Regions from separate parts of the Homo sapiens genome. Here region 2 is linked to region 1. The links are contacts of gene promoters, found by promoter capture Hi-C in human tissues and cell types (Jung and others, 2019). All regions are on one chromosome and are shown on one strand. The core of a region is centred on a gene start or on the middle of the fragment in contact, and the rest is flanking DNA. Distances in the headings are between cores, read along the strand shown.

Region 1 (6,090 bases), core at 25-2,524:
AAACAATAGCAAAAAATATTTAGAAATTATATAGTCATTCCTATTAGTTTTGATTCATTCAAAAAGGTATTAAAATATGTAGGAACAAATTATTTACCTCATTGAAAGACTTTTATTTTATTATTATAATCAACAGGTATTAATCGATGGCCAGTGTACTGAAGTCAGTCATAATTCTTGAAAGTTCAATTTTAATGAGGTTCTACCACCGTTAAATGACCTGTATTTATGAATTAAAGTAAAGAATTAAGTGACTGGGAGTTCAGTTTTTTTGTATGTTTTTACTGCAAGTGTGTTATTTATTCTACATACTTAGAACTTGTCCCTTTTTTCCCTAAGGCAATATAAAGGACCATATTAGGAGATACAAGCACCTAGTAAAGTTGCTAAAAAAAAATTGCCTAGAGATATTATCAACAATATAAATGCTCTGATGGAATTCTTATCTAGATGTGTTTGACTGATAAATTAAACTACCCATGAAACATGACTGTTAAGATGCTATTTTTTACAGCAATGTTTAATCTTTCAAAATTAGGTTTCTGTGCTTTAAAATAAAAATGGCTCCATGTAAGTTAACAAGTAGAGACAAACCATTGTTTAATTATCACATAAGCTTAAAGTTTGCTGAATAAAATAATGCAAATATTGAACAACATGAGATTTATCAAGAGGAGTAAGTTAAATAACAGGGCTTAAATGCACACAAATCATTCATTCTAAATTAATGCTAAAAGAGTCTACAACCTGCAAAAATAGTTTTCCTAAGCCTTTTACTGTATTGTCAATATTAAAAGCCATCACATGAAATTTTATATTGTATATTCACAGAAGGCTCCATTTTCTCAGGACCTGTGGAATTTACCGAGGTTTTCTCATCCTTCCTGCGATTCCTAGTAACAAGCTTGAATTAAACATTTTTGAAGAGACACATGATGATTCATTTTATCTATTAATTTTGCTTCAGTGACACTTGCATAGAAAGTTATTTAGGATAAGACATGCCTCTGGTGATTGTTTTGTTTTGTTTTTAATCAGCTAAGGATTTTGCAGAGAGAAAGAACAGCAAGCTCATTGCAAAGCTTCCTCAAGTAATAAAAGGGACACACTTTCAGAAAATGTCCTCAGAATAATTTTCCTACTATAAAATTGTTTCCGTAAAAATTAAGAAGCATTCTCTTTTAAAGAAAAAAAGAATTCTCTTTTCTTTTTTTTTATTTTTCGCTCTTACCTGTAAATATGGTTTCTGTACTTCGGCTCCGTCAGAACACACTGAAGAGAGTACACTCCTCCCTCGTCTATCCATCAGGCGGCAGCCAACCAATAACAAAAGCCAGATCCTGGCATTCTCTAGCTCATGCTCCCTGCTTTGCTTCCATTTCTTGTTCCCTCCCACCTCCACTCTTTTAGAGGACGAATCCCTGCAGCTGGGAGAGAGGAAGCGAGTGGAGAAAAGAAATATGGAGAGAAAAGCAGAGATGCAAGATATTTCAAAAAATAGCTCCCAACTATGGAAAATGTCTGCAGATGACCTCAGCTGAAGTAAAAAGTCTTGCTTTGGATTTAGAAAAATAAAGTTAATCAATGCCTCACCTACCTGAAATCAAAGCAAAATGCTCATAGTAAAACCTAGGTAAATTGCCTGTTTTTTAGTTCCCACTGATTTTTCTCAGTGAAAAAAGTGTACCTCCTCATTATACATTTTGATATGCAGACAGAGGAGGGAGACTGAACATCAAGATGACATTTTGCATATTCAGTTTGCAAAGAGATAGAATTAAAATGAATCAACACCCTTTATACTTATGTTTTATATTATTTGCACTACAACCTCTGTTTGACAATGTTTTCATTCAAACGCAGTTTCGAGGCCTAATCAGTATGAAAAATATTTCATTCTGAGCATTAGAATATTCAAATATTTCACAGTTATGTGGTTTGCATTACTTCAGATTCCTTAAATGCCATCAATTTGTGAATAATGGAACTTATTAAAGATTAAAAAGAGATCAGTCACTTGGTTGCCATGCCTCAAAGTGACCAGCTGAACTCCAATTTTATTCTAATAAACTTAAACAAAAATCATTTCACTTCTGAACCTAGAGGCATAACATGCATTAAAGGACAGTTAAAGAAAACACCAAATTAGGATTTTTTAAGGCAATAAAGCAAATTCATCCAGTTTCAAACAGTTTAATTTTTAAAATACTGTAATACAAACCAGGGATCTTTATGATAAAAATTCTCTCAATTGAGCTTCCTCTAGTGGAGGTGGTCTGAAAAATTTCCTTAGAAAGACATATACAGTAGATATCACCACTATAGAGGTATGTACTGGCTACTTGAGGTATTTATAAGCCTTGCTCTTCAATTTCTTAAATCAGTAATGTGTCCTCATGGGAATAAGGCCAAAGGGAGTAAAATTAGAGGGAAGGGCAAGCAAGCATTCTTTAAGAGTTACTGGCATGGTGGCAAATCATTAGTCCAGGAATATCTGTACAGGAAGGGCTTGGGGTGTCAATATTGTTAGGAAAGGAATGGCTGGTGACTTAAACTGATACTAACTTTAGATAGGAGTGCACTGATTTTGCTTAGTTTGCACTGTTATTTAGAGTAGCTTTGGGAGGCTCTGCTAAAGATTATGGGGAAGACTAAACTATCGCTTATTCCCACCGCCAAGTCCTCTGTTGTGAAAAATGCTTTCAAAGCCTTTGTGGTCCTATTGCTAGGAATAACTGGAGGAATCCCTAGGACAGACAGCATTTTTAGAAATAGTTGTTCGGGGCCATCTTCATCAGAACCACTAGGGGAAGATTCATTAAAAATGCAGGTTCATGGGCCTCCTCCAGATTTAATGAATAAGCATTTGAGGAGTTTCTGACTCAGCATTTTTAGCAAGCTCTCCCAGGTGATTTATATGTCAAGTGTGATTGTAGACAGAGACTTGTAGGCAAGTATTTGCAGGGCACAAATTCTAACCAGATTTCTTCTGTTTAGATGATGATGCCATTGTCTCAGAAAAAAAAAAAAAAGAGAGATTTAGAGATTTGGGAACAAAATAACAAAATTAATTTGAACGTTTTGAACTTTTTGGATATCCAGATTAAAATATTAAATAGTCAGTTAAACTCATAAATAAGGCTGGGATGTAGGTTCAATTTGGAACCCCCAGCATCTAGGGTTCGGTTAAAGTAATGAAAATAAATGAGCACCCTAAGGGTTTAATATAAAAATTTTATAAAGAACTCATAAAACTTAACAGTGGAAAAACAAACCCAATACAAAATGGACAAAAGGCCCAAATAGACATTTCTCCAAAGAAGACATAAAAATGGACAACAGGTTTATGAAAATATGCTCAGCATCACCAATCCTCAGGGCAATGTAAATCAAAATTACTAAGAAATACCACCTCATATTTATTAGGACGGCTGTTATCAAAATGTCTGCAGATAAATGTTGGAGAGAGTGTAGAGAAAAGAGTACTCTTGTACACTGTTGGTGGGAATGTCAACTGCTACAGCATTATGAAAAACAGTATGGATGATTGTAAAAAAATTAAAAATAGAACTACCATATGATCTAGCAATCTCTCTTCTGGGCATATACTCAGAAGTGGAATCACAACTTTGTAAAGATATCTGTATTACCATGTTCATTGCAGCATTATTCACAATAGCCAACATATGGAAACAACTTAAGCATTCATTGATGGACAAGGGGATAAAAATGTGGTACAAATACACAATGGAATATTATTCAGTCCTAAAAAATAGATCTTGCTTTTTGCCACTATGTAGATGAGCCTGGAGGACATTATGCTATGTGCTATAATCCAGACACAGAAATATTGCCTGGTCTCACTTATATGCAGAATCTTTGTAAAAAAAAAAATCAAATATATAGAGATAGAGAACAAAACAGTGATTACCAGAGGCAGGGACTGGGGGTATGGGAAGATGTAGGTCAGAGGATACAAAGAAGCATATATATATATATATATATGTATGTGTGTGTGTATATGTGTGTATATATATATATATATGATGAACAAGTCTAGAGATCTAATGTACAACATGAGGACTACAGGTAATGAAATTGTACTATGGGTTTCATGTAAAATAAGTAGATGTTAGCTACTCTTACCACAAAAACAACAAAAAAGTATAGCTATATGAAATGATGGATATGTTAGTTTGCTTCACTATAGCAAACTTTTACTAATTAAATATATATAAATATTGTGTTTAAGATAATATGAGGTTATGACATACATCGTGTTTAATTAAGACAATATGAGGTTACGTATGCCATATTTATATACATTTATTTTTTAAAAAAGAAAAACATCTTTAGCAGAATTAAAAATGCTGACTAAGAGACTCCACCCCATACCTACTGAATCAGAACCTTTGGAATGAAGCTTAGGGAGCTCCATTTTGATAACATTTTTCAGCTGACTTCCTTTGTACACTAAAGTTTGAGAATCATCACTCTAGGAAGAGGAGAAATAAGTTGAGAATGAAACTCAGGGAATTTACTTACCTTTAAAGAACAAGCAGAAAGCAGAATGAAGAAAAGATGCTTAGGAGGAACAGTTAGCGAGGAGGGAAGCCAGGAGAGAATGGTGTAGCAAAACCCAAAGGAGTAGAGAATTTCAGGAAGGTGAACGATTATGGTGAGGGCTAATGCCTTGCTATTCAAAGTGCAGTCCACTGATTCCAGCTTAGACATCTCATGGGAGCTGGTTCTAATGCAGAATCTCAGGCCCCACCCCAGTAAACTGAATCACAATCTGCATTGTAACAAGATCCACAAGCACACTCAAATTTTAGAAACATTGTTGTTACCTATGAAATTTGCAATTTGGTTCTTGGTGAACTGACAGTGAACAGTTTCAGTGGAGTGGTTGGGGTAGGGCAGGATGACTGCGGTGGTTGGAAAAACAGATGGAAGATAAAGAAATGGAGACAAGTACAGTGCTTTATATACACCCAGAACAAGGGTCTTCTAGCAAACACACTCATCACCAGACCATCTTTTCAATTCAGAGAAACAGAATAGGAGCAGAGGCAGAAAGTGAGCCTTGCTTGCTGCTGCAGGTCTCTACCTTACACCACTCATCAGACAGGCGTGACATGATGGGAATATCACAGGCTGATATTGATAGAGGGAGATGCTTTCCTAAGGAGCAGTGACAGTCAGGCCTTTGATGGCCACGGGAGCTCAGCTGCATGTTGCCTTGTTTGCCTGAAGCAAAGGTAATAGACCGTCTGAGAGTGTGTCTGAGTGACTTTAAAAATCTTTCATAACAAGAGAAATATTACAAAATTTCTAAAGGTTAAAATACCCTAAATTAAATAATAAAATATTCTTTAAAAGCTGAAAATAGAAATAAGCCTAAAGAGTAACATAATGGACAACTTTTAAGAAAGTCCAAAATTAGAGCAGGTTGTAATAGGAAGGGATTTCAATATGTTATGTATTAATTAAGTGAAGTTTCTTCCATTGAGCTGTAGAGGTAAGGTTTTGGGATAATATAATGACCACTAAGGAAATAGATGAGGCTTGGCACAGATCAAATGATTAAATAAAAATTTTTCATACCTAACTGTCCAAAGAGACTATCTTAATAAAACCTATATTTTTGAAAGTCAGAAATTTGTCAAGTGATTGGAATTGAAAAGATCTTAAGGAGTGGTAGTGCAGATGAATCAAAAATTATGTAGCTCAGAATCGAGAACACTCTTGTAAGAGACCAAAGTAATAAAAGTTAAGAGCTTCAAATTTGCTAAAAAAATAAGCTGAAGGATCAGTGGAACTATTTAATATCTCCAGTCTCATAACATATCAAGGGATATAAACAAAATAGAAAAAAATCATTTTTTATTCCAGTCTTCTTTGAGGAAGTCATTAACTGATTCCTAAATTGGTTTTTGAAATTGAGATTCAGAAGTATCAAATCCAAACATGATAAATAGCACTAAGACTACTCTTGACCTAATCAATACAGAGGAATAAGTAGATCAACAAATCCTGGTGGCAGCCATCCAAATGTTTGCAGAAACTCAAGGGTAAAATTAGGTACAA
Region 2 (6,991 bases), core at 3,104-5,603, 200 kb before region 1:
TGCAGGTGGGGGTTAAAGAAGTGGTAGAAGCAGATATGACATAATATTAATAACAGCTTTCGCATCTGTGTGCCAGGCACTGTTCTAAACACTTTACCTGCATTAGTTCATTTAGGATCATATACATCTCATGAGGCAAATACTATCATTGTATTCATTTAACTGATGAGGAAAATGAGGCACAGGAATGTTAAATAATTTGCCCAAGATTGCAAGTAATGAGGATGTGCATCAAGTTACGACCCTACTATGTGACTCTACAGCTTGTGCTCTTAAAAGTAGTAATAATTACATATATCTATTCTTTTAATACACTTAACAGGTACTGAACAATCTTTTATGATTATTTGGAATCAGGCATTAGGTGTACTGGTGCACAACATACAGCCCTTGATCCCAATGAACTGGAGTAAAGAGACAAGGAGTCTAGTAATTTTAACCTAGTTCATAAGGATTTCCTAGCTTAGGGTGAACATGGGGCATTTGAGGGTTATGTAGGAGGGTGGCAGTGGGGCTGGCAGTGGGGTGAAGTGGGAAGACTTCAATATTCAAATCTGAAAATAGAGTAGCAGTTAAATGAACAGTGGTGACAGAAGGCATTCCATGCTGAGCAACAATAGTTTCAAAGGCCTGAGATAGGACAGAGCATGATACAGTCATTGACCTATAAATTATCCAGATGATTGAACTTGCATGGGATCACTCCCTGTCTTGGTCCATAATTGAAGAGCTAAAAGTAGATAAATAGCAGTTATCCAGAGAGAAATTCTTCTTTGCCATTTGGCTTAGCTAGTTTACAGGTGATGAATACTGACTTAATTTATGATTTGACTTAATCATCTTTATTTTATGTTTATCCTATCTCTGTATGCATGTATCTATGTTGTACTGTTAGGATCTCCAGGTCAAGGCCCCTGTGTGTATGTATGTGTGGGGTGGGCATGTGTGAGTGGGCACGCATGCACATGTGTGTATGCTTGGTTTCAATGATGACACTTAAGATGGACTTAGTTCTTAAGCCACTGTGTAAACTTGTTCAGACTCTCTACAAATAAAACCACTATAACTTTTTTTTGACAGATGGAAACCAAACATCTTAATTTTGCAGATTCGTATGCACTGATAACTGTGAGAAAACCATTCCCAAAGCCCTATAGAAATAAATCATTTTGCCCATCTAAACATACCTGAGGGATGGGACACATTACTGTCAGAATCAGTGGAATGATACCCAGACAGCTTTGAGCCAAATATAGGGATCCCAAATAAAAATCAAGGCTCAACTTTTTGTTTGTTTTTACCATATCATGTTGTGAATGAGTTCTTCCATAAATTTTAATGAGATGAAATTTTTGGTGCCATCAAGGGCCCCCAAACACCTAATTCAATTCAACTAATAAAATGATTAGAAGAGAGAAACAATACTAAAAGTATAGATTGACTAAAATGCCAGGGCAAAACAAAATAAAACAAAAAACAAAAATAAAAACACTTCTTTTTAGCACTTAAAAGCTATGTTTACTAACAAAATTTTCTGGTCATTACTGAATTATTCACACGTGTGAAAAAGAGAGTGATTTCCAGAAACAAGAATGTGAAAAACTAATTCAACTTCACAGACACTGATTACTGCATATTATAATAAGGATGATGATGTTGAGAATGACCTAAGCTGCCATATAGTAAATACTAGCCATTAAGTTCCATACTGTATATAAATTATCTCACCTAATTTGCATGACAATCTTATAAAGTAAAATTTTTTTGTAGTTGAGAAAATTGAAGTTCGGAGAATATAATTTGCCAAAGTCTAGCTAAATAGCCAATTAATGATGATGTTGAAGATCAAACTTAGGTTTATTTGACTCCAAAGCTTGAGCCATGCTTTCAAGACCAGTTGGAGTAAAAATTCTTAAGAGCAATGGTAGAAAAACTGAACAAAAGGAAACAAAAAAAGACAACGTGGCAGTACACTCTAAGAGCTGATCTCAGTGCTGTGGGGCAAGAGATAAAAGAGCAGAATAAGCTTCCCTAGAAATAGCTCACTCAGAAATAAAGGATATGGGCTGGGCGTGGTGGCTGACACCTGTAACCCCAGCACTTTGGGAGGCTGAAGCAGGCAGATAACGAGCTCAGGGGTTCAAGACCAGACTGGCCAACATGGTGAAACCCTGTCTCTACTAAAAATACAAAAACTAGCCAGGATTGATGGCAGGCACCTGCAGTCCCAGGTATTTGGGAAGCTGAGGCAAGGGAATTGCTTGAATCCAGGAGGTGGAGGTTGCAGTGAGCTGAGATCACACCACTGCACTCCAGCCTGGGTGACAGCGAGACTCTGTCTCAAAAAAAAAAAAAAAAAAAAGAAAGAAAGAAAGAAAGGATATGATTCAGACACAGAAAGCAAGAGCTCAGGAAAGAAGAAAACAGAGAGCAAACCAAAGATACAACATCTCACCAGTTAGTATTTCCTTTGGGTCCTACTTTTTGGGCATGTGGAGGTGGCCTTTCTAATGGAGAGGACATCAGATAAAGCTGGTTGAGCTAACGTATTACTCTTTTGATTTTCTCAGCTGACTTTTAACTTATTTATCCTGGCCTGAGAAATCTGTATAGCCTGTGGTCTAGTGTTGTAAGACTATATTAGCTTTGGTGATTGATTTAATGTTTATCTCCCCTATCATACTGTGAGCATGTTGAGAGCAGAGATGGCATCTGTCTTGTTTACCAGTGTATCCTTTGCACCTTGATAATTACCAGTCCCATAGTAATTGATTAATACATTTTTAAAATGAATAAGTGAATATTCTTAATCACTATGGCATATTGCCAAGCACTGTACTAGGTATGGAGTTTTATAGATGTACAACAGTTCTGCCATATAAGGAGGTTCCAGTCTGCTGGGGGAGATGACCGTGTAATAAATATGATATAATGTTGTAAGAGCACAAAATATATGTGCAAGTTATTGAAGTGGTGGGGTGGAAGAGAGAATAGACATGAAAAGGAAGGCTAGGTACAAAGTCACAAAGCAGAATTATTTACTTCCTATTCAGATTCCATAGTCTTTTTCAAAAAGAAAAACCTTCAAACCAAAAATGTGAGAACAGGCATGTCAGGAAGGATTTAAAGCAAAAGGGAGGTGAGGAGACAGCGAAAGAGGACTCCGCTGTTTTATGGAAGAATCTCCAGGCCCAGACAATTTATGTTTTGAGGCAATGAAACAGCTTGAAGTTATGGTTGTGCAGTGTAACAGTTTTGAAGAGTCATGGAGTAAAGAATTACAAGATAATCAAAGTGAGAACAATTTTTTTTAAAAAAAAGCTAGTTCTGAATAACAATATTCTAGAAAAAAATACTTAAAAAGATGGTCTCTGTACATGTGACAAAAAAGAGCAGTAATTATTAGACTATTGCCTAAGTTTACTACAGGGAATGTGTCCATTTTTCAATTAAAATTCCACGCAGAAGCTTAACATATGGAAGATAAAAGTGAGAATGAGATCTGCATCTTGGGCTTTCTGCCCTGGTCCCTAATCTCAGACCCCATGGATTACAGTTGGAAAACCAGTGCTCTAGTCCTGAAAATTTCTTTCTCCTTCCTTCCTTCCTTCCTTCCTTTTCTCTCTCTCTTTCTTTCTTTCTCTCTTTCCTTCCTTCCTTCCTTTTCTCTCTCTCTCTTTCTTTCTCTCTCTCTTTCCTTCCTTCCTTCCTTTCTCTCTCTCTTTCTTTCTTCCTCTCTCTCTTTCCTTCCTTCCTTCCTCTCTCTCTCTTTCTTTCTTCCTCTCTCTCTTTCCTTCCTTCCTTCCTTCCTCTCTCTCTTTCTTTCTTCTTCTCTCTTTCCTCCCTTCCTTCCGCCCTTCCTTTTTCTCTCTCTTTCCTTCTTCCTCTCTCTCTTTCTTACTCTCTCTCTTTCCTCCCTTCCTTCCTTCCGTCCTTCCTTTCTCTCTCTTTCTTTCTTCCTCTCTCTCTTTCCTTCCTGCCTTCCTTTCTCTTTCTTTCTTCCTCTCTCTCCTTCCTTCCTCTCTCTTTCTGTTTTCCTCTCTCTTTCCTTCCTTCCTTTCTCTCTCTCTTAACACCACTCTCTCTTTCCTTCCTTCCTCTCTCTTTTCTTCCTCTCTGTCTTTCCTCCCTTACTTCCTTCCTTTCTCTCTTTCTTCATCTCTCTCTATCCTCCCTTCCTTCCTTCCTCTCTCTCTCTTTCTTCCTCTCTCTTTCCTTCCTTCCTTCCTTCCTCTCTCTGTCTTTCTTTCTTCCTCTCTCTCTTTCCTCCCTTCCTTCCTCTCTGTCTTTCTTTCTTCCTCTCTCTCTTTCCTCCCTTCCTTCCTCTCTGTCTTTCTTTCTTCCTCTCTCTCTTTCCTCCCTTCCTTCCTTTCTCTCTCTCTCTTTCTTCCTCTCTCTTTCCTTCCTTCCTTCCTTTCTCTCTCTCTTTCTTTCTTCCTCTCTCCCTTTCCTTCCTTCCTCTCTCTTTCTTCCTCTCTCCCTTTCCTTCCTTCCTCTCTCTGTCTTTCTTTCTTCCTCTCTCTCTTTCCTCCCTTCCTTCCTCTCTGTCTTTCTTTCTTCCTCTCTCTCTTTCCTCCCTTCCTTCCTTCCTTTCTCTCTCTCTCTTTCTTCCTCTCTCTTTCCTTCCTTCCTTCCTTCCTTTCTCTCTCTCTTTCTTTCTTCCTCTCTCTCCTTCCTTCCTTTCTCTCTCTCTCTTTCTTTCTTCCTCTCTCTTTCCTTCCTTCCTCCCTTCCTCTCTCTCTCTTTCTTTCTTCCTCTCTATCCTTCCTTCCTTTCTCTCTTTCTTTCTTCCCCTCTCTCTTTCCTTCCGTCCTTCCTTCCTTCCTCTCTCTTTCTTTCTTCCTCTCTCTCTTTGCTTCCTTCCCTCCCTCCTTCCTTCCTCTCTCTCTTTCTTTCTCTCTCTCTTTCCTTCCTTCCTTCCTTGCTTCCTTTCTTCCTTCCTTCCTTTCTCTTTCTCTCTTTCTCTCTCTCTCTCTCTCTCTCTCTCTTTCTTTCTTTTCCCAGAATCTCACTCTGTCGCCTGGGACCCAGGCTACAGTACAATGGCACAATCATAGCTCACTGCAACCTTGAACTCCAGGGCCCAAGTGATGCACTCATCACAACCTTCCAAGTAGCTGGGACTACAGGCACATGCAACTGCCCAGCTAAATTTTAAATTATTTTGTAGAGAAGGGGTCTCACTATGTTGCCCAGGCTGGTCTTTAACTCCCGGCCTCCAGCAATTCTCCAGCCTCTGCCTCCCAAAGTGCTGGGATTACAGGTGCGAGCCACCCTGCCCGGCCAGAGAATTTCTTATTTTGTCTCTAAGACAAGAATATAGTTCTGAGAATTTCCCATTCTTTCACTCTGACAGAATTTCTTATGCTCTTCATGTGGAAAATGGAATGTAATCTGATTAATAAGAATATGGTTGGATATATGACTTTTAGTTAGCTGAGCAGTAAAAATGCCTCTAATACCAGTGATGCTCAGCCTCTTTTGTACCAACAAGGAGGCCAGGAATGAAGGATAACGGCATCTATACATCCTATCAGTAGCAGTGGCGCACCCTGGCAATGTTTCTCCCTGGGGGTCATGGTGGGGTGCTTCTCCTTTTACTCTTGAGGATAGCTACCTTGAGAGGATATCCTAAACTTGGCCCTGTTTTGTTAAATGCAATTTTAAGTCCATAACCTGGATGAAGACCTAAAAGGCAAGCTTATCACATCTACAGATGACAAGACCAAGTTTATTGAAATTAAATGTAACAAAACTTTATTGATCACTCTCTACAGGCCATGTCTAGCACTAAAGAGGGCTTTTGCCATGGAGATGTTACAAAATTTTGGTTTATATCATAATGCAGAGTTGGCTTAAAAGATCTGAGTTTTGTTTGCTTGTTTTTTGTTTAGTTTAGCTTATTTATTGTTTGTTTGTTTTTTGCTTACCACCAGCTTACTAAGAACAAAAAAAAATTGATCACAGTCCAAAAGCCACTATATCCTTAGTGTATTCCATGGAAAGAACATCCCGAACTTGGGAGAAGATAACGTAACATATTCCTGGAGCACCATGTCCAGGTCAAGTACCATATTATAAAGGAGACATAAATAGCCCTGTATCCAGAGGAAGGAAACCAGGGCAACAAAGAGCCTAAAAGCCATGCCCCAGGAGGATCAGTGGAAAGAACCAAGGATGTTTAATCCTGCAGAACAGAAACATATAGAGCCCATAAGCTTTCTTCAAATATTTGCATGTCCATCACCATTGCTTTCAAACAGCCAGAATTCGGAAAATAGGGAAGATTTACTCTGTGTACTTATGGGGCAGAATTCGGGTCACATGGCAGCAGGTTGCTCAATGTTAGGAAGAGCTTTCTAACAATTAAAGCTGCAAAATGAAATGCGCTATTTCAAAAAGCTGTGTGCTCTGGATCACCAGAATTGTTCAATAAGAGGCTAGAAAGCATAGGATATGTTTTTAATACAATAAATTCCTGGTTTTGTGGTACAAGTTGGACAGTGACCTAGTCTGTAAGGTCTCTGGAAAACTAAAGGAAAATATGTATATCATTTGGATATTGAGTCACATCTTATAATATAGTTCTTTAGCTCATTAGCTGTTAATTGCAGGTGGCAAACTGGAACCAATTTAATTATACCCTCGAAGAACTAGGAATGTTTGGTTGTTTTGTTAGCTTATGAGAATTTCAACAACCTGAAGTCACAATAGGACCCTGGAATACATATTACCACACAGTCACCAGGAGGGATGATGATAGTATCGACATATAAGACATATGAAAATTTCCTCTCAAATTTTTTTCTCCTACCCTCTGATTTAGACCAACATCGCTTCTTTCAGTGGTAGCTAATAAGCCAGACGGATCTAGTAGAATGCTAGTAAATATTTAACAACTGACACTCTGGAAAAAAAAATCTAATTTGTCATGTTTGCCAAATCTCATGGTTTAAATACACCCATCATAGCTGATTTCAAGCTACCATTG

What was found. Contacts are between HindIII fragments. The study calls those that stand out against the background at their distance.
Region 2: a contact is called between a fragment that was not itself captured here and the fragment with the promoter of CSRNP3 in region 1, in 2 of the 25 tissues and cell types used here (hippocampus and mesenchymal stem cells).

What each region holds. Positions count from the first base shown.
Region 1 is chr2:165,464,882-165,470,971 of GRCh38, reverse strand. It overlaps CSRNP3 (cysteine and serine rich nuclear protein 3), which reads right to left and starts at 1,274. Exons shown (of 7, transcript NM_001172173.2): 1 at 1,232-1,274. The HindIII fragment of the contact is 6,911 bases long and covers 1-6,090 here.
Region 2 is chr2:165,663,773-165,670,763 of GRCh38, reverse strand. The region is part of intron 5 of CSRNP3 (cysteine and serine rich nuclear protein 3); the gene reads right to left. Among named protein-coding and RNA genes, the nearest start is that of GALNT3, 130 kb to the left of the region's middle. The HindIII fragment of the contact is 3,212 bases long and covers 2,748-5,959 here.